Linked DNA regions of Homo sapiens: all the other regions are linked to region 3. The links are contacts of gene promoters, found by promoter capture Hi-C in human tissues and cell types (Jung and others, 2019). All regions are on one chromosome and are shown on one strand. The core of a region is centred on a gene start or on the middle of the fragment in contact, and the rest is flanking DNA. Distances in the headings are between cores, read along the strand shown. Region 1 has its middle 5.6 kb from the start of EIF4E3. Region 2 has its middle 21 kb from the start of PROK2. Region 3 holds the start of GXYLT2 (glucoside xylosyltransferase 2). Region 4 has its middle 61 kb from the start of PROK2.

Region 1 (4,433 bases), core at 343-2,842, 1.2 Mb after region 3:
TCCAAGATGGTTGCTGAAATCCTCTGGAACAGGCAGTGCTCCAGGACCCGCTCCTTGTGTATCTACCGTTCGGGTTTTCCCAGGACCAAAGGGTTTTCTGGGACTCAGAACTTTCAGTGCTCAAATTGGAACAGTCCTAGGCAAATTGGGACAGTTGTTCACTCCACCTGTCTCTAGATCCCCAACGAGCATACAAAGGAGGACACTCGTATTCAAAAAGCAGAGAAGATGTAGGGTTATCCCCTCCAGGAACTGTGATAAGGAAACGAGAATCAACACTTGGGTGACCTTTTTTTGACTTTTATGTAGAGCCTCACCAAATGTTCCTGATTTGATCCTTCAGGCAGCACTGCAAAGCAGGTGTTATTGGCACACTCATTTTTTAATTGAGAAAAAAGGAGACTCAGAGGTTCACCGATTTGTCCCAAAGCACATGGCTGTTAGACATTGGCTCAAGCACATGTTTTTGGACTTTCCTCTGATCACATTGCCTCCCTACTGCTCATCGTTTCCTTTCTTTTAAAAATTGCTGAAGACCAATTTGAGGCCTGCCGGCTCTCCCCTTCAGTCCAGTTTCTGATGTAAGCTATCTCTGTATCTCTGATTGATTGGCTGGCCAGGAATGTTCAGAACTACTCTTTGATAAGAAGCCAGTGATTGGCAGAGTGTTTATTACAGGGTTGCACATGATAGCCACAATCACTGGTAATAATCTGTGTGCCTAACAGGAGGAGTTGGTTATACAAATCATTACTCCTCCAATCAGTGGAATTCTGTGTGGCCACAACAAAGGTCTTTAATCAGAGCTCTTAGACTGGCCACAAAACCTATATACTGACATCGTTGGGACTTTTTTTTTTTAAATCAGGGAAGAGATTTTTTTTTAAATCAGGAAAGTAGTTTGGGCACTGCCCAGCTGTGTCTCTAGAACTCTGTGAATCTCTTGTCCCTATCTGGGGTGTGTTTGGTGACTGATTCCCTGTGAGGGAACTTGGCCTGGCCCTTGAAGGATGGTTAGACAATTTAGATGGTCAGAGGAGAGAAGAAAGGTCTCAGGCAAAAGTGTGGAGATATGAGTACATATGGTGTGTTTACCAAGTGGGGAGTAAGCCCATCATTGATTCAGTAAAGCTGGGTCTCCCATGTGCCAGACACCGTGCTAGGAACCCAGAAGACAGTGGTGGAGGGGGTGGGCCCAGGCCTGTCTTCGGGAGCTCATGTTGTGGCAGAGCTGAAAATGCACCAAGAAATAGGGACAAATCTGTTTGGAATATATATATTTCCATGTATAGCTGTTTCTCCAAATATATAGATTTAACATATATATTCCAAGTATATGTAAATATAGGTGTATAATTATATCTCTCTAAATATATTTGGAAATATACTCGCAAATGCATTTGAAAAAGGGGGTCAAGGTGTGGACAATTTCAAAGGCTAGATTCCAGATTTCAGACCTCAGCCTGTGAGAAACAGGCAGCGCTTTAGGGCTTTTGAACAAAGAAGTAATAGGACAAAAGTGCTTTTTAGGAAGACCAACATGCCGTCCATGAGAAAGATACACTGGCAGAGGAGAAAGACAAGAAATTAGGAGACAAAGTCACAGACTCTTCCTTTCAACCAATATCTGCTGTATACCCAGTTTGTTTCCTTAATAAATGTTGCTGGTGTGCCAGCCATGGACAGGCCCTGCACTAGGCACTGGGTGGACAAAGGTGGACAAGAGAGGCCTGGCCCTCCCCACTTGGACTGGATATTCTGTTTCGGAAGATCGGCAGTTGATGTGTGCAGCTGACACGTGCACTGAAAAAAATAATGAGGAAGGGGAGAAGACCTGCTTTAGAGTGGAGGCCTAAGGCAGGAGAAGGAGTCAGCCATGCAAGCGGAGGGACTAGCAGTTCAGGAGAAAGAACAGCATATGCAGGTGCCCTGTGGCCACAGAGAAGCTTTGAGGCAGGGGGAGAGATCAGCCATGGATTTGGAAAGGCAGGAAGGATCCAGAAGATGCCAAGTACTGTTGGCCACCAGAAAGAGTCTGGGTTTTTTTCTGAGAGCAGGCAGAAGCAAACCAGTGTTTGAGGACTGTTGTTCAGGCTGCTGTCTGGCAGGAGATGAGAGGGTCGGGTGTTAGAAGCAGGGAGACCCGTTAGGAGGCTGTTGCAGTCCTCCAGGCCATGCTTGGCTGACTCAGGAGTGAGGACTGGGAGTGGCTGGCACCAGTGGGAATAAAGAAGGAAGAGCAGGCTAGGCACTGTGGCTCACGTCTGTAATTCCAGCATTTTGGAAGGCTGTTGTGGGAGGATCACTTGAGGCCAGGAGTTCAAGACCAGCCTGAACAACATGGTGAAACCCTGTCTCTACAAAAAATTTAAAAATTAGCAGGGCATGGTGGCATGTGCTTGTAGCTACTGGGGAAGCTGAGATGGGAGGATTGCTTGAGCCTGGGAGGCCGAGGCTGCATGAGCCAAGATTGTGCCACTCCACTCCAGCCTGGGCAACAGAGCAAGACTCTGTCTCAAAAAAAACAACAACAATAATAATAGAGAAAAAGAAAAAAAGAAGGAAGACCAACACACGGATTGCAGGCAGATCAGGACGAGAACTCAATGTCTGATAGGTGGATGGATGTGGAGAGTGGGACAACCAAACCTCAAGGCCACATTTTCCAGGCTCAATGACCACATGGACCTCAGTGTCCTCACTGCAGATGCTTAACACATGCCATTTCCTTTGCCCCTTTCTCTTCCATTAGCAGCTCTGAACAAGAGAGGCCTGGCCTGGCCCCTAAAAGATCTTCAGAGGTCTTTTGGAATCTAGATAAATAACACTAGTTGAGCTTTTTCTATGTGCAACTTGCAAGGTGCTTTATAGACAATGTTTTCTTATACATGGCTCAGAGCAGTCCCTTGAGAGTGCTCTTGTTATCTGTACCCTAGATGAGGAATCTGGAGCTCAGCAAGGTTAATAACTTCCCAGAGTCACAGGGTTTACCTATGGCAGGATCTTGGTTAGAGCAGGGATCAGTCTCACTCTGAAGCAATCACTCTTGAACCACACCGCAGCCTCCCCTGACCCGTGAGTATCCCAGAATAGTGTCAAGTCTCCCCTACCTTTCCAAGCCATTGCTCTAGGACTGACCAGCTGCAACACACCTTTGCTGGAAGCTTCAGTGAGGGCCTCTGCCCCAGGCCAGTCCCTTCCTGTGCCCTGTACCTACCGGCACTGAAGACTGCCATCTAGTGGCCATTGCCTTCCTTTTTCTTTTGCTGTTAAAGGAAAACGGAGTTCCCACATAAAAGACAGGCCTGCATATTTATAGTATCACACCCTGTAAACAGGAAACTTCTCAGTGTTAGAGAAGGAGCCCAGCAACATAAACAGCATATTGCCAATGAGTTCCGCCACCCATTCAACAAACACTTAAATACACACACACACACACACACACACACACACACACACACACATTCTATTGGAATGTAGGCTCCCAGAGAGAGGAATTTCTTTTGTCTGTATTGCTAATGAACCTGGAGAGCTTAGAACAGTGGCATTTGCATAGCAGATATGCAACAAATATTTATTGAGTGTGGAATGAATGAACGCCTGACATTTACTGTATCTTTACTATATACCAGGGACTTGACATATACATTTTCTCATTTAATCCTAACGATAACTCGAGAGATAGAGACCATTAGCATGTCCAGTCCTCATATGTGGAGACTGAGGCACAGAGAGGGTAGGAAGCTTGCCAGGTTTAGGGAGAACTAGCTTTGACCCAGGTTTTCTGACATTAGAGACCATGTGTTCCCTCCTTTCAAGGGAGCCACTGGCCAATTCCCTCCCATGTTCTGCCTTTATTGAGTGGAAGGCTCCCTTCCCAAAGTGTTGAGACAGAGGCCATCAATGGAGGGAATGTCACTAGCTAACTCTGTGGCTGTGTGACTTCCAGTGTCCCTGAACCTCAGGTTCCTCATTGGGTAAAGGAGGAGACTGAGTTAGGACCCCTGCCTTCCCTTCCAACGTCATCATTCTGCTGTTCCTGTGACTCCCAGGGAGCAGATGTGAGTAGAAGAGAGAGGACCACTTGTTGCTAGGCAACCAGCACCCACCTCACCCATGTTGCCATGGTGATGATGAAAGTTGGGCTGATGGGATTACCAGCTCCTGCTAATTGCATATGAGTGCTCAGGTTTCTGTCTCTTTCTTGCCTGCTTGCTCGCTCTGACTTTCTCATTCTTCTAGGAACTGTAGAGCGATTTCCCCCTCTCCTCCATCTGCAGCCTCCCTGAGGCAGCCCTAGTGCAATGGAAAGCAACTGGGAATGGAGCCTGGCTGTGTGTCTGAATAGCTGTGTGACCTTGGGCAGGTTACCCAGCTTCTCTGGGCCTTTCTTTTCTCATTTGGAAAATGAAGGTGTTGGAAAAGTGATC
Region 2 (4,983 bases), core at 290-2,789, 1.1 Mb after region 3:
AGTTTTTGACTCAGGCTCTACTTTCTGGAGGACCTGGCCTTAGACAAGAGCTGAACTTCTTGGCCACTGCCTGCATCACTGACTTCATCTCTCTTTCTATGTACTGAACCCTTTCCTAGCTACCACCGCCTGCAGTGTCACAGATGTGACACATTCTTTCTTTCCTCTTCCAGGCCTTTGGACATGACCTCTCACCGCTTTCCTGGGGAAATCTTAGGTCTCACCTGGGAAGCATTTTTTTAGACGACTGTTGCATCAGACTGGTTCAGGTACCATGTTTAGATGCCCATGGCACACTGTGCCTTCCTGGGAAAGGGCTTATCCCTCTTGTTTACTTGTTTGTCTTCTCCACCTGGCAGGAAGTTATTCACTATGTACTCTAGCACCTGCTTCAATGCCTGACACGTAGTGTCCAATAAATATTTGATTGGATAAACGAATACATGTTTTCAAAAGGAGACAAATTCCCTGGAAAAGGTACACAAGCAAGAAAATTTTGCAAGTGTTCAATTTTTGTCTATGAAAGCTTTAGTATACTTTTTAAAAAACTGAAGCATATTACATTCCATTTTTTTCTTTCTCACTATGAATCTTCATAGAAGTAAATACTTTAAAGTATAGTTTAATGGGTAGGGGTTTGTTGTTTGTTTGTAAAAATTTATGGAGTACAAGTATAATTTTGTTACTTGTATAGATTTTGTAGTGGTGAAGTCAGGGCTTCTAGGGTATCCATCAACCCAAATTATGTACATTACGCCCGTTAAGAAATTTCTCATCATACACTTCTTTCCATACCCCATCCTTCCAAGTCTTCCATGTCTGTCTTTGCGTACTCTGTGCCCATGTGTACACATTATTTAGTTCCCACTTATAAGCGAAAACATGTGGTATTTATCTCTCTATTTCTGAGTGGTTTCACTTAAGCTGATGGTCTCCAGTTCCATCCATGTTGCTATGGAAGACATGACTTCATTCTTTTTTGTGTCTGCTTAGTATTCCATTGTGTATACATACCACAGTTTCTTTATCCATTCATCTATTGATGGAAATGGTTAGGTTTCATGGGTAGGTATAAGTCTGGTTCCAAAACTAGACCTTTATGTTCAAATCCCAGCTCTTCCACTGACCTGTTTTGGGTTTAGTGTGTGTGTATGTATGTAACTTGACATATACCTGGTTTCCTCATGTGAAACATGAAGTAAATAATAGTCTCCACCTCATAGGATTGTTGAGAGAGTAAATAGCTAATATAGCTGAAGGGCTTGGCATATGTTTTGACACTGTGCTGAAGAAGGCATTGGCTACCATTACTATTATTATTCGAAGAAGACATTTTTAGTTTCATCTCCTACATAATTTTGCAGCCCACTAGGTAGTATATTTCTGGCTGTAAGGCTTGGAAAAACCCATCCTAAATGACATAAAAAATAAGGTGGCTGGGCATGGTGGCTCAAGCCTATAATCACAGTACTTTGGGAGACCGAGGCAGGTGGGTGGCTTCAATTCAGGAGTTGGAGACCAGCCTAGGCAACATAGTGAAATCCTATCTGTTAAAAAAGTACAAAAATTAGCCAGGTGTAGTGGCGCATGCCTGTAGTCCCAGCTACATGAGGGGCTGAGACAGGAGGCTTATTTCAGCCTGGGAGGTTGAGGCTTCAGTGAGCCCTCTTGCTGCCACTACACTCTAGCCTAGGCAACAAAATGAGACCCTGTCTTAATAATAATAATAATAATAATAATAATAATAATAATAATAATAATAATGAAATGGCTGGGCTCAGTGGCTCATGCCTATAATCCCAGCACTTTTGGAGGCCGAGGAGGGAGGGTTGCTTGAGGCCAGGAGTTTGAGACCAGCATGGGCAACATGGTGAAACCCCATCTCTATAAAACACTTCAAAAATTAGCCAGACGTGGTGGCACACGTCTGTAGTCCCAGCTACTCAGGAGGCTAAGGTGGGAGGATCACTTGATCCTGGGAGGTCAAGGCTGCAGTGAGCCCAGATCACACGACTGCACTCCAGCCTGGGCAACAGAGCAAGACCTTGTCTCAAAAATAAATAAATAAAAAATAAGACAGTAAGGAAATGTATTATCTTACCTAACTGGAAGGAGTGGCACCATCAGTAGCTGAAAGATGTCGTCAGATAACTGACTCTCTCCGTCTTTCTCATGATGTTGTAAGCCTCATTTCCAAGTGCCTCATAATAACAAGACAGTTGTCAGTGGCAACTGGAGCTACATACTTCTTTGTTCTCAACTACCTGGTCAAAAATGGAAAAACCACATCTCCAAGTGTGTAATATAAATGTTTCCTTCATTTTGATTGAACCAGTCCTAGTCACAGGACCAATGAGTCATGCAGGCAGGTGATGGGGGAATGGCACATGCCAATAGCCTCCTTAAGATTCACTCCTGGCCTGGCGCGGTGGCTCACGCCTGTAATCTCAGCACTTTGGGAGGCCGAGGTGGGCAGATCACGAGGTCAGGACATCGAGACCATCCTGGCCAACATGGTGAAACCCCGTCTCACTAAAAATACAAAAAATTAGCCGGGCATGGTGGTGGGTGCCTATAGTCCCAGCTACTTGGGAGGCTGAGGCAGGAGAATTGCTTGAACCGGGGAGGCAGAGGTTGCAGTGAGCCGAGATTGTGCCGCTGCACTCCAGCCTGGCGACAGAGTGAAACTCTGTCTCAAAAAAAAAAAAAAAGATTTACTTCTAGAGTCTCGGGTCACATTCTTCTAAGCTATACTTGGTCAGAATCGGAGTTGTGTTAGGAAGAAAGACACAAGTGAATGGATGCGGGGCAATCAGTGTTCACCAATGTACTATTGCTCTCAGAAAATATGGAGATGCCTCTTTTTTCATATTTTAAAAAACTTCTCAATTTTTAATTTTTTTTAAGTTTTAAATTTTTGGAAATAATTGTTTTGTTTTGTTAGTTTTTAGAAAAAGGATCTCACTCTGTTGCCCAGGCAAGAGTGCTGTGGCATGATGACAGCTTACTGCAGTCTCCGACTTCTGGGCTCAAACAGTCCTTCCGCCTCAGCTTCACAAAGTGCTGGGATTACAGGCATGAGAGAGGATGAATTCTAACACATTACATTGTGGTTAGAAACTATGTTACCAGATATAAGAAATAAAATAAAATTACATCTTCATATGTATATTTTATATATTTATAGCTAGCATTTATTGAGTGATTGCTTTGTGCCAGATCTGGCTTTGTGCCAGATAGTCACTCAGATACTATTAAGTGATTGCTTTGTGCCAGATACTACCCATCATTTCCATCAGCCTTCACAAATACCCTTATTTATTTCCTCAGAAAATACTTATGAAGCCCCTACCATACTTCAGGCACTGTCTTGTCACTGGGAATATAGCAACAGCAGGAAAAGACCAAGACCCAGTCCCTCATGGAAACTACATTCGAGAAATAGGAAACTGTGGCTGAGAGGGATTGAGTGAATTGCCCAAAGTTACACAGCTTGAATGTAGCAGAGTCGAGATTTGAACTTCAGAAGTCTAATCTAACTCCAAAGTCAAGAATGGGTGTATTAGTCTGTTCTTGCACTACTATAAAGAAATACCTGAGACTGGGTAATTTATAAAGAAAAGAGGTTTAATTGGTTCATGATTCCTCAGGCTTTACAGGAAGCATACTGGCTTCTGCTTTTGGGGTGGCCTCAGGAAATGTACAATCATGGCAGAATGTGAAGGGGAAGCAGGCACATGTTACATGGCCACCCCAGGAGGAAGAGAGAAATGGGGGAGGTGCCACACAGCTTTAAACAACCAGATCTTGTGAGAACTCACTCGCTATACTGTACCAAGGGGGGATGGTACTAAACCATTCATGAGAAACCCGCCCTCATGATCCAATCACCTCCCGCAAGTCCCACCTCCAGCATTGGGGGTTGTAATAATTCCAGTTCTCAGCCAATGGCAGGCTTCCTTCTTTCAAGCCTTGACTTTTCAGGGGAGAGCTCTCTGGGGCCTGGAGGAGGCATTGCTCTAGGGGTCAGGCACCATGCCCCACAGTGGCATCACTGCTTGAGAGCACCCAGAACAATGAAAGGCAGCCTGTGAGCCAGGGGAGGGTCCACTCAAACCAAGGGTGTATGGAGCAAACTGCGTAAGCATTGAGGCCCCAGGAGAGATTTGCACAGGAGATGCAGGTGCCCAGTATGATCAATCCCTCTCCCCAGACCTCCAGCCATCATTTGCAATAACCGAAGTTAACATTACCTGATGCTTTGCTTCTGGGGAACCAGTGTGCACAACCTCCTTAAAAAAAATAAGGGTTTGGCTGGGCTTGGTGGCTCACACCCATAATCCCAGCACTTTGGGAGGCCAAGGCAGGTGAATCACCTGAGGTAAGGAGTTCGAGACCAGCCTGGCCAACATGGCAAAACCTCATCTCTACAAAAAATACAAAAATCAGCCAGGTGTGGTGCTGCACACCTGTAATCCCAGCTACTCGGGAGGCTGAGGCAGGAGAATTGCTTGAAACTGGGAGATGGAGGTTGCAGTGAGCCGAGATTATGCCAATGCACTCTAGCCTGGGCAACAAGAGTGAAACTGCGTCTCCAAAAAAAAAAAAAAGAAAAGAAAAGAAAAAAAGGAAAAAAAACGGTTTGTGGCATGTAGTGGGGCGAGACTTTCAGATTTCTGAGCAGGAACCTAAGCTGATAGAAGAATTGTACACACTAAAAATGCCTGGTCCCTGTCATATTGTAGTGATCTGTGACCTTAAATTTAAGTATTCAACTTTCACCAGGTTATTTTGAATTTGAGTTCTGCTAGATAGAATCAAACCTATGTAAGGCTGGGCACGGCAGCTCGCGCCTGTAAATCCCAGCACTTTGGGAGGCCAAGACAGGTGGATCATTGAGGTCAGGAGTTTGAGACGAGGCTGACCAACATGGTGAAACCCTGTCTCTACTAAAAATATTAAAAAATTAGCCAGGCATGGTGG
Region 3 (4,609 bases), core at 1,269-3,768:
TAGCAGGTAAGTGCTCAACCTGAGCCCACACTGCCTGGATCTTTATCCTTCTCTACCAGGTTACCTGTGAACCTTGGACAAACTGCTAACCCTTGTGCAATACTTTCCTCATCTGAAAAGTGGGGATACCATTGGTGCTTACTTTGCAGAGCAGGTTCTCAAACTTTGTTGTGCATGAGAAACAATGGGAGGGACGTGTTAAAACACGGTTGCTGACCCCCCAAAGCTTCTGATTCTGTAGGGTTGGGGTGGGGCCCAGGAATCTGCATTTCTAACAAGTTCCCAGATGATGCCTGTGCCACTGGTCTGAAGTCCACACTTTGAGAACCACTGTCAAAGGGTTATGGTTGGGCCCGGCGCGGTGGCTCACGCCTGTAATCCTAGCACTTTGGGAAAGGCTGAGGCAGATGGATCACTGGGCTCAGGAGTTCCTGGCCAATATGGTGAAACCCCGTCTCTCTACTAAAAATACAAAAATCAGCTGGGCATGGTGGCACACGCCTGTTTGCCAGCTACCTGGCAGGCTGAGGCACAAGAATCACTTGAATCTGGGAGGCCTGAACCCGGGAGGCAGCGGTTGCAGTGAGCAGAGATCGCAGCACGGCACTCCAGCCTGGGCGACAGAGGAAGACTTTGTCACAAAAAAAAAAAAAAAACAAAAAAAAAACCAAAAGAAAAACAGCGGTGGGGGGGAAGGTTATGGTGTGGATTATGTAGTTGTATATGTTAAGTGTTAACTGTGACTATTTGTATGTACTGCGGTTAGCACTGTCCCTGGCAATAGGTTAGCGATGTTAAGGATGACAGTTATTATTATCTTACCAGTTGTCCCATCAAACTTAGCAATCATATTAAACTTGCAGTTAAACCCTAATTAATCTCTTACAAGAAACTCCAGTATAGAAGAGGGGAAATCCTATTAATTTCCTAACAAAGATATCCTTAAAGACTGTATACATCCAGAAAGGGCTGTAAAGTGTTATAAGTACTTTAAAGCGACAGATTGTTGGGGTTTTTTCCCCCTAAAACTTGTCAGTACCCATTTGTACTGAGACAGAAGGGAAACAAAGGCTGACACAGCTACTTCTTGAGGTTTCGTGTCTTTTAGTTACAGTAAAGGCACCAAAGAGATTTAGTCATTATGGTCAAAAATAATTTTTCAACTCCTTTCAGGTTGAAATTAAGGAGCCCAGCAAACAAGGACGTTGCAATGGCAGTTAGAAACAACAGTTTTGAAAGGGCAGATGAAACAGACTCGCTACAAGACAAGGGGATTGTTGAAAAGCCCTCCACAACAAAGGAAATGAACTCAAATCCCTAACCTGCGGGGCGTTCCAGCAACCCTGAGGCCAAAAATAAAGCTCTCTGATGAAAAGCCTCCGCGTGTTAGGCTTTGTGTAGGGAAAGAGAGTATCAAACAGAAGGTCGAAGGTTAAGTTGTTTTTCTTGTAGGAGGACCCTTTGACCACACTCGAGCCTGAAACAGAATGAGGATCTGGAAACCCCCACTCTGTCTTTTCTGTGCCACGCATCAGTCCTTTCAAGGAGAAAACTTCTTTTTAATAAACTTAGGTCAAGTGTCCCTTCTGTTCTAAGCATGGGGGTACTCGAGGTTAAATGAGAGGCTGCCAGTCCTTGGTAAACATCTAACTTTTCCAACTCAACCATATCTAAGGTTTCGGTAAAATTCTCCAGTGAAACATGAGAATTAGATAAAACATTCTTGCACCGTGATGGCTTTTGACAAATTAAACAAAGGGTGCATGTTTGCAAGAGTGCAAAAATACGCCTTGCCTTGACAGTTAAAAAATGTAATGTACGAAACCACTTTCCTTGACACTTCAAAAAATGTACGTGATTATCAACACCGAGCTGTTAGGGGGACTCCACCAAGGTGGGTCTTCTTTTCTATCGGGTTAAGAAACAGAAGTGGGCAGCCCGTGGGTGAAACTTGGAAATCTGTCTCTCCAGCGCAAAGCCTCCCTTGGACTTGGCACGGGTGTAGGGAGCGAGACACGGGTCCGCAGATGGGATTCTGGGGTTGCCACGACTCACCTCGCCAACTTCTCCAGTCTCGCAGCGCCCCGGCGGCCCGCTCGGGGGCGCGGACGCGGGGGCCGGCGCCTCCGAACTCCCGGGCTGGCCCCGGGGAGGGCGCCCGGCCCCGGCCAGCGCGCGGGGACAGGCGCGGGGTGGCGCTGCGGGGCGGACGCGGGGCGCGCGGGCAGCGCTGGGGGCTCAGCGCGGCCAGCGCGCAGGGACAGCAGCGCCAGCAGCAGCGCGGCCAGCGCGAGCAAGAGCAGCGCCGCCGCCTTGCTGCGGAGCTTCATGGTGCGGCGCGGCGGCGGCGGCGGCCCCCAGGCGGCTCGGCCCCTCTGCGCATCGCGGCGGCGGCAGGATGAGTGCAGCAGCGCGCGGCGGTCGCCTCCTCCGCCCGCCCGCCGGGGACTGGGGTCGTGGCGGCCGGCGGGCGGCCGGCGGCGGCGGCGACGGCGAAGGAGGAGGAGAGAGAGGAGAGGAGGGGGAGGCGGTGAGAGCTGGGTTACAGGAGGAGCAGCCTGCGCCTACCGTACTGTGTGGAGTAGCCGCCCCTCCGCCCGCCCGCAGCCAGGCTCTCGGGCTTCTGGTAGCTCAGACTCAAAACCACTTCATTCATTCATTCGTTCGTTCGTTCGTTTACTTCCCCATTCACTCACACACCCATGCCATCCACTGTTCCCGCTGATTCTCTCATACCATGATTCACTTATTTGTTGATGTATTCCATGTGCTTCCTCCTTATTTATTTTATCCATCTATCCACACATTTGTGCACTTATCCACACATCCTTTCAGGCAGGAACATCTCTGTCCTGTTTGCCCAGTGCAGGGATCTGCGGGTGGTGGTGCCCAATAAATATCTGTTGAATAAACCCCTATTGCCGCCTCTGTCTTGCCACCTCCCTTTTTCCTGGAGGAGGACATATTCAACAAGGACACATGCAAAATAAGGCAAAGCGAGTAAAAGTAACACGTGATTAGTAGTTGGGGTTTCAGACTCAAAACACCAAAGTAGAACTTGGGACAGCTAGACTGGACCGAACCGATCCATGTAGTCTGAAGAAATTAGAGAATGAATTTCAAAGTTTGGATTTGAAATCTGACACTGTGCTTAACTGGCTTGGTGATCCTGAGGAAGCTGCACAACTTTCTTAAGCCTTAACTTCCTTACGTGCAAAATGGGAATGACAATACTGCTCACTACAGAGGCGTTTTGTGAGCATTAAATTAAATAATGCCTTCAAAGAAACTAGCACAGTGCCTGGCTCACAGTCGGTGCCCAATAAAAGTTCTGTAATGATTAGTTCAATAAAACATAGCTTATAATATACACATAAACACACATTTTATTTTCTTTCTGGCACAGATTTGAGATAGAGTAATAATTTCACAACACAATGTAAGAATGGCTTCTTTGGAGACTTTAACAGCTGCAATCGCCAGATGAAGGTCGTAATTTCCAGACGATTCTTCCAGGGGATCCCCAGTTACAAATCTGAAACATTAGGACACATCCTCTTATGACTCACGGTGAACTGACAGCCAGGACTCCATTAACTCTCTTTTCAGCACACCACAGAACAAAGAACACTAGTTAAGTTATAACAACGTCCCTGAGTTTTTCAGTTTTTTTTTTTTTTTTTTTTTTGGATCACTCTGTAGCCCAGGCAGGAGTGCAATGGTGCAATCTTAACTCACCGCAGCCTCCGCCTCCCGGGTTCAAGCCATTCTCCTGCCTCAGCCTCCCAAGTAGCTGGGATTACAGGCTGCGCCACCACACCCGGCTGATTTTTGTATATTTAGTAGAGACGGGGTTTCACCACGTTGGCCAGGCTGGTCTTGAACACCTGACCTCAAGTGATCCGCCCGTCTCGTTCTTCCAAAGTGCTGGGATTACAGGCATGAGCCACCGCGCCCAGCCCGTCCCTGAGTTTCTACAAGATTCCATGTTGCTTTATAAATAATCTAAAATTTAGTTATATTCTGAATTATTCTCATATTAGCATTTTATTTTAATTCCTTGAGAACCCATTGTATTAAAAGTTCTAGAGATGAGAATATTTAGTAATTTGGAAGCTCTTGCCAAGCAGACATCTAGGAAATGGCAGGGTGCAAGTTCAGTGTGGGGGACATGTTGTAGGTGAGTAAGCGCAAAGAATCCATTAGTTCTCAAAGATGAGGGAGAAGGTTCCATCCTACCAGGAAGCATCTGGAATTGTGGGAAGGCTGACAGGTTCTACTAGCATATGCAAAACCTCCTGCAATGCTCAGGACATACCAACAACGAAAACTATCCTGGCCCAATGTGGGACCCTGTTGAGAAACACTAGGCCAGGCTAAGGCATGATGTTTAGATCTTTCAGGTTTAGAAATGGCCACCACTCTGTTGACATGTGGCCCAGAGAAGCAGGCATTCCCAACTCTGTCTTGCCCCCTCCCTTCTACCTCTAGGAGGACAGATGCAACAAGGATAAACAAAGGCAGAGTGAGTCAAAGTAACACTTGATTAGTAGCCAGGGTTTTAGCCTCAAACACCAAAGAATCATGGACCAAAGAGAGGACTCAGTTT
Region 4 (4,748 bases), core at 455-2,954, 1.0 Mb after region 3:
TGGGTTTTTTTACAAATTTTTAATTTGTAAATGAGAAATCTCATGTTGTTTTCTTACCACAATAAAATTTAATAAAATAATGATTATAGATAAAATGTATTTAATAAATGAAATGTGTGACTTCATAAAGATACTAAAAAAAGAGAAAGCCTGAAAAGACATTATACGAGATGGCCATTAAACCACTCCTTACTTTTTAGTTGGTCATTAAAGGAAAAAAATTAAACATTTTGCCTTTTCCAGTAGGAACTATATGACAGGATAGCCAACTAGCCCACCTGTTGAAGAGAATCTCTACTTTACAAAAGAACACCAGTTAATGAACGTAGAAGAAACGATAAAGGTTGAAAACCTGATCTTGCAAAACCTAATGAAATTATTGATTTAGGCAAGATTTATATATTAAGTGAGTGGGATACAGAACAAGACATAGGACCAAAGTAACATTATATAAATTCCTTTCTGATCATGTGTCAGTTATTTATTGCTGAGTAACAAATCATTCAAAGAATCTAGTGGCTAAAAACAATAATCATTTCTTATTCTTTATTACTCTGTGGGTCAGCTGGTTGGTTCTTCTGTCTGGGCCAAATTTATTGGTCTCTACGGACAGCTGGTGGCCCAGCTGGGGCTGATGGATCCCAGATGACCTCACTCAAATGTCTGGCAGTTAGCAGAGATGGCTGGATGGCTGAGGCCTCCCTTCACATGGTCTGTTGAGATGATCTAGGATGGCTTGACTCACATCTCTGGGAACTCATCTGGACTAGCTGGGGCCATGCTCCATGTGGTGTCTCATCCTCCAGTAGGCTGGCCTGAGCTCCTTCACGTGGTGGTCTCGAGGTTTCAATAGCAAAAGAGGGAAAGCCCTGGTACACAAGCATTTTCCGAGCCTCTGATTGCATGATGTTTATTAGTATCCTATTGGCTGAACAAAGTTGCATAGTGATGCCCAGATTCAAGAGATGGAGAAATGGACTCATTCTCTAGTTAGTATGTCTAGTAGAATTTTCTTCAATGAAAGAAATATTTCATATCTGCCCTGTCTAAGTGGTAGCCACTAGCCACATGGGGCTATTGAGCACTTGAAATGTGGCTAATACAACTGAGGAACTGAATTTTTCATTTTAATTTATTTAAGCTTAAATTTAAATGGGTACATGTGGCTGGTAGCTACCACACTGAGTAGTGTAGTTCTAGATACAGAATCCCTTATGGTATATTCTAGCCAAAAATGCTTGTCTTGAATCCATCAGTCCTTTAGATCTAACCTATCATTTGCAGGAGATGGAGGGGTACAGGAATCAGCTACATGGCACAGTAAGGAAGCAATCAGACAAATCTAGAAGGTGAGATATTCCACAGGAAAACCAGTCCAGTGTCCTCAACAAGCCAATGTCATCAAAAAGGAAATCAGGATAGACTGGGTAGAAATAAGGACTATATCAGCCAGATTTGATTCTTGAGAGGATTTCTGGAGAGGACAAGCCAGTTATAAAGGTCTTTTTAGCTTAATTGGTGAAATTTGAATATGGTTTAGCTATTCAATGACATAAAAATATACTGAGTGGGCCAGACACAGTGGCTCGGCTGAGGTGGACAGATCACTTGAGCCCAGGAATTCAAGACCAGCCTGGGCAACATAGTGATGCCCTGTCTCTACAAAAAATACAACAACAACAACAACAACAAAATTAGCCCAGTGTGACAGTAGTTGTAGTCCTAGTTACCCAAGACACTGAGGTGGGAGGATCACCTGAGCCCAGGAGGTAGAGGCTGCAGTGAGCAGTGTTTGCGCTACCGTACTCCAGCCTGGGCGGCAGAGTGAGACCCTGTCTCAAAAAAAAAGTACTGAAGTGGAAAGGTAAAGATCATTGGCTGAAAATGTAAGTTTTAAGACAGTAAGTGGAGTGTCATCTCACACTGGTAAAGCAGAATACATACTAATATGTGTGTATATAAATACAAATATATGTACAAATACATAAAGATTCGGAAGCATATGGACGAAGATCTAACATATGGTGATTCTGGGTGATGGTAAGGTGAAGTTTTTGTTTGTGTTTCCTAATTTTCTATAAATATAAATGCACTGCTTCTATACTAGTGAAGAGGTTATTCAATATAAAAGAGATAAAGACGCTACTAAGTGTCTCGGAGGTGCCAGAGACAAGCAGCTATTTTACAGTGTTTATGCGCGTGCGTTTGTTTAGGAAATGCTCTATCCCGATAACGTTGCAGATAATACGTGCGGACAAGGGGAGACCTATGAGGCTCAGCAGCTGCTGAAAGGGTTTAGCTAATCTCGAGGATCTGGTAAGTGGATCACTTCCTTGTGACACCACAGAAGCTCCAGCCATCAATTTGGATTAGTCAGTCAGCATATCCCATTGGGCAGCATGTTCTAGAGTGTTCTAGTATGAATCATTCATGGAGGCTTCTGGTTATGTTACTTGGTTTCCCTCAGAAATAATGGCCCCAGGGATTGAATGCTGTGTAACAGAGAAAGTGAATAAATTGGTGCAGGCCCTGCCAGGTGTCAAACAAATAGGAATATATCACAGGAAAAGTGCTCCATCTATAATTAATGACAACATTTTTAAGCTTTACCAGAAATTGATAATACAGTGGTTTCTTTTAATGCATTTTCCCTTTAGTAATGTGTACATATTTTAAAGTAGGTCTAGCATTAAATATACATCAAACTCTTCTTATAGAAAAATGTAATCGTTGAATAGAAAAATATTATATTTATAAATATCTCATTGTTACATTTTATGCAATTATTCACTCTGGGTGTTCAGTGTAGAAGTTTCAGGAATATAATACTTGTCACAGAAAGCATATTCAAGACTATCAAGTAAAAAAGCAAACTTATGACTGCCAATTTTTTTGAACTTTTGGCATAATTTCCAAATTGCTACTGTCATAATAAAAATCTAGATTGCCACTAGTTTGTCTTGGAATTACATGGCTATCTTTTAAAATAAGCATATATTGTCATTTCTGAGTTACAAACCCATTTAGGTAGCTTAATCTTTCTAGCAGTCAACTGAATAATTAAATAGTAAGGTAAGAGCTTTTATTATCCCTCAAATCTGCAATTGAACATTTGCCATGAAACAAATGGATACATTTCTCTTCAGGATCCATTAGGGAGAAAGGGGAATTTTAAAACTCTTAAAGTCTAGCAAACAGCAGTTGTTCAAGTGTTAAGTTCTACCAAATAAAATTAAGTGAAATCAAATTCTCTTCCCATTTGTATACTTTATGTCTTTGTTCAAATTGCTTGTTCTGAGACACAATAGGCTGTCACACCTGTCCCCTAAATTTCCAAAACATTAAGTCATCACTCTATTGTCTAACTTCTATTAGTGCCATATGCATTCTCCCTTAAATTTGAGAGTAAACACAAGCTTTAACAAGTTCCCAAAATCATCTTATTTTTTTCAAGAGTCTCCAACAGTCAACATTGTTATCAAGTCCCTAAGAATATTATTGTTTCATTATAGTTCATTTGCAATTGATACACAATATGATTTTTTGGTTATAGACAAAGAACAAGAATGATTTTGTGCACCTTTGTATTTATAAGTGGTCTCTCAAACTGCTGGCCCAGGGATCCATCAATAAACATCCATCAGGTTTATTGAGCATAGTTATCTACAAAGTGTTTCATCTAAATGAGGAAGGTGGTGGGCATCACAGGAGGAGAAAGGCAAAGCCTTCAGAGCTAGATAGTGTGCATTGCACATATTCATTCTTCTATATACAACAAGAACTTGCAATACACCAAGCATCATGCTAGGTGTTAGAGACACAGCAGTGAACAACACAGGCACTCACGTAATTTTCAGACTGCTGGGAGCACCAGATATTTGAAGTAACTATGCAATTAATTAACTGCAATCATGAGAAGTGATATGAAATACACACATGATAAGAGTATGTAACAAGGCAACCTGACCTGTTGGGGACAGAAAATGAGGGCTGAATGGTGGGCAGGGGATCACTTAGGAAAGGCTTAACTAAGCAAAGAGAAGGAGGAGAAGGAGTTAGTAGATGAAGAGCAGAGAGTATTACAGACAAGGAGGGAACAGCATGTACTAAGGCCCTGGGGTGGGAAGGAGCATAGCAGTTCTAGGAATTGAAAGAAAGCAAGGATGGTTGAAATGCAGAGACTGAATAAGAGAATGGCAGGATATGGCCAGAAAGAAGCAGAGGTCAAGGAGATGATACAGGTCACCCAAAAGACACCATGTAAATTTCATTTTCTGGGGTTAGGTTTGAGAAAAAAGGAAAGATTGGGCCAAATAGTTAGGCTTTAATATAATAAACAACAGTGCCCCCATTTGAGTAGGAGAAAAAACTTTCTGTCAATGGTATTTGAGCAATAGAGCATAGCTAGGTTGGTAAAAGGGGAAAAAAATACGCAATCTGAAGAGAAACCAGAGTATTAGCCAGGCTGGGATCAGGAGTGAGACTGGAGACAGAGCTTCCAGCTCAGAGGATCTGCAGAACTCTGTCCAAGGGGCTTATGAGTAGACGTGGAAGGAAAAAAGGAAACGTGCAGCTGAGACACATTCATTAGAGGGACAAGAACCCACTGGCTTTGTGAGAGAACAGAGGAAAGGAGGGAAGGAGAGAGAGGAATTGAAACAAAGCAAAGAATATGAACAATGCTCATGGCATTGATTCACCAATAATTGATAGGAGTTGGTGGAAAATACCCCTCATCTTCATGAGTC

The links. The method cuts DNA at HindIII sites, captures the fragments that hold promoters and counts their contacts. A contact is called where the count stands out against the background at its distance.
Region 1: a fragment that was not itself captured here is called in contact with the fragment with the promoter of GXYLT2 in region 3 in 1 of the 25 tissues and cell types used here (adrenal gland).
Region 2: a fragment that was not itself captured here is called in contact with the fragment with the promoter of GXYLT2 in region 3 in 1 of the 25 tissues and cell types used here (lymphoblastoid cells).
Region 4: a fragment that was not itself captured here is called in contact with the fragment with the promoter of GXYLT2 in region 3 in 1 of the 25 tissues and cell types used here (dorsolateral prefrontal cortex).

What each region holds. Positions count from the first base shown.
Region 1 is chr3:71,728,833-71,733,265 of GRCh38, reverse strand. It overlaps a transcript of EIF4E3 not described here. Among named protein-coding and RNA genes, the nearest start is that of EIF4E3, 5.6 kb to the right of the region's middle. RefSeq lists an enhancer at 3,074-3,368. The HindIII fragment of the contact is 3,729 bases long and covers 1-3,456 here.
Region 2 is chr3:71,804,149-71,809,131 of GRCh38, reverse strand. No RefSeq gene overlaps it. Among named protein-coding and RNA genes, the nearest start is that of PROK2, 21 kb to the right of the region's middle. The HindIII fragment of the contact is 7,193 bases long and covers 1-4,983 here.
Region 3 is chr3:72,885,955-72,890,563 of GRCh38, reverse strand. GXYLT2 (glucoside xylosyltransferase 2) reads right to left here and starts at 2,518. Exons shown (of 7, transcript NM_001080393.2): 1 at 2,056-2,518. The coding sequence starts at 2,330. RefSeq lists silencers at 2,019-2,148, 2,249-2,478. The HindIII fragment of the contact is 12,200 bases long and covers 1-4,609 here.
Region 4 is chr3:71,843,947-71,848,694 of GRCh38, reverse strand. No RefSeq gene overlaps it. Among named protein-coding and RNA genes, the nearest start is that of PROK2, 61 kb to the right of the region's middle. The HindIII fragment of the contact is 5,285 bases long and covers 1-4,346 here.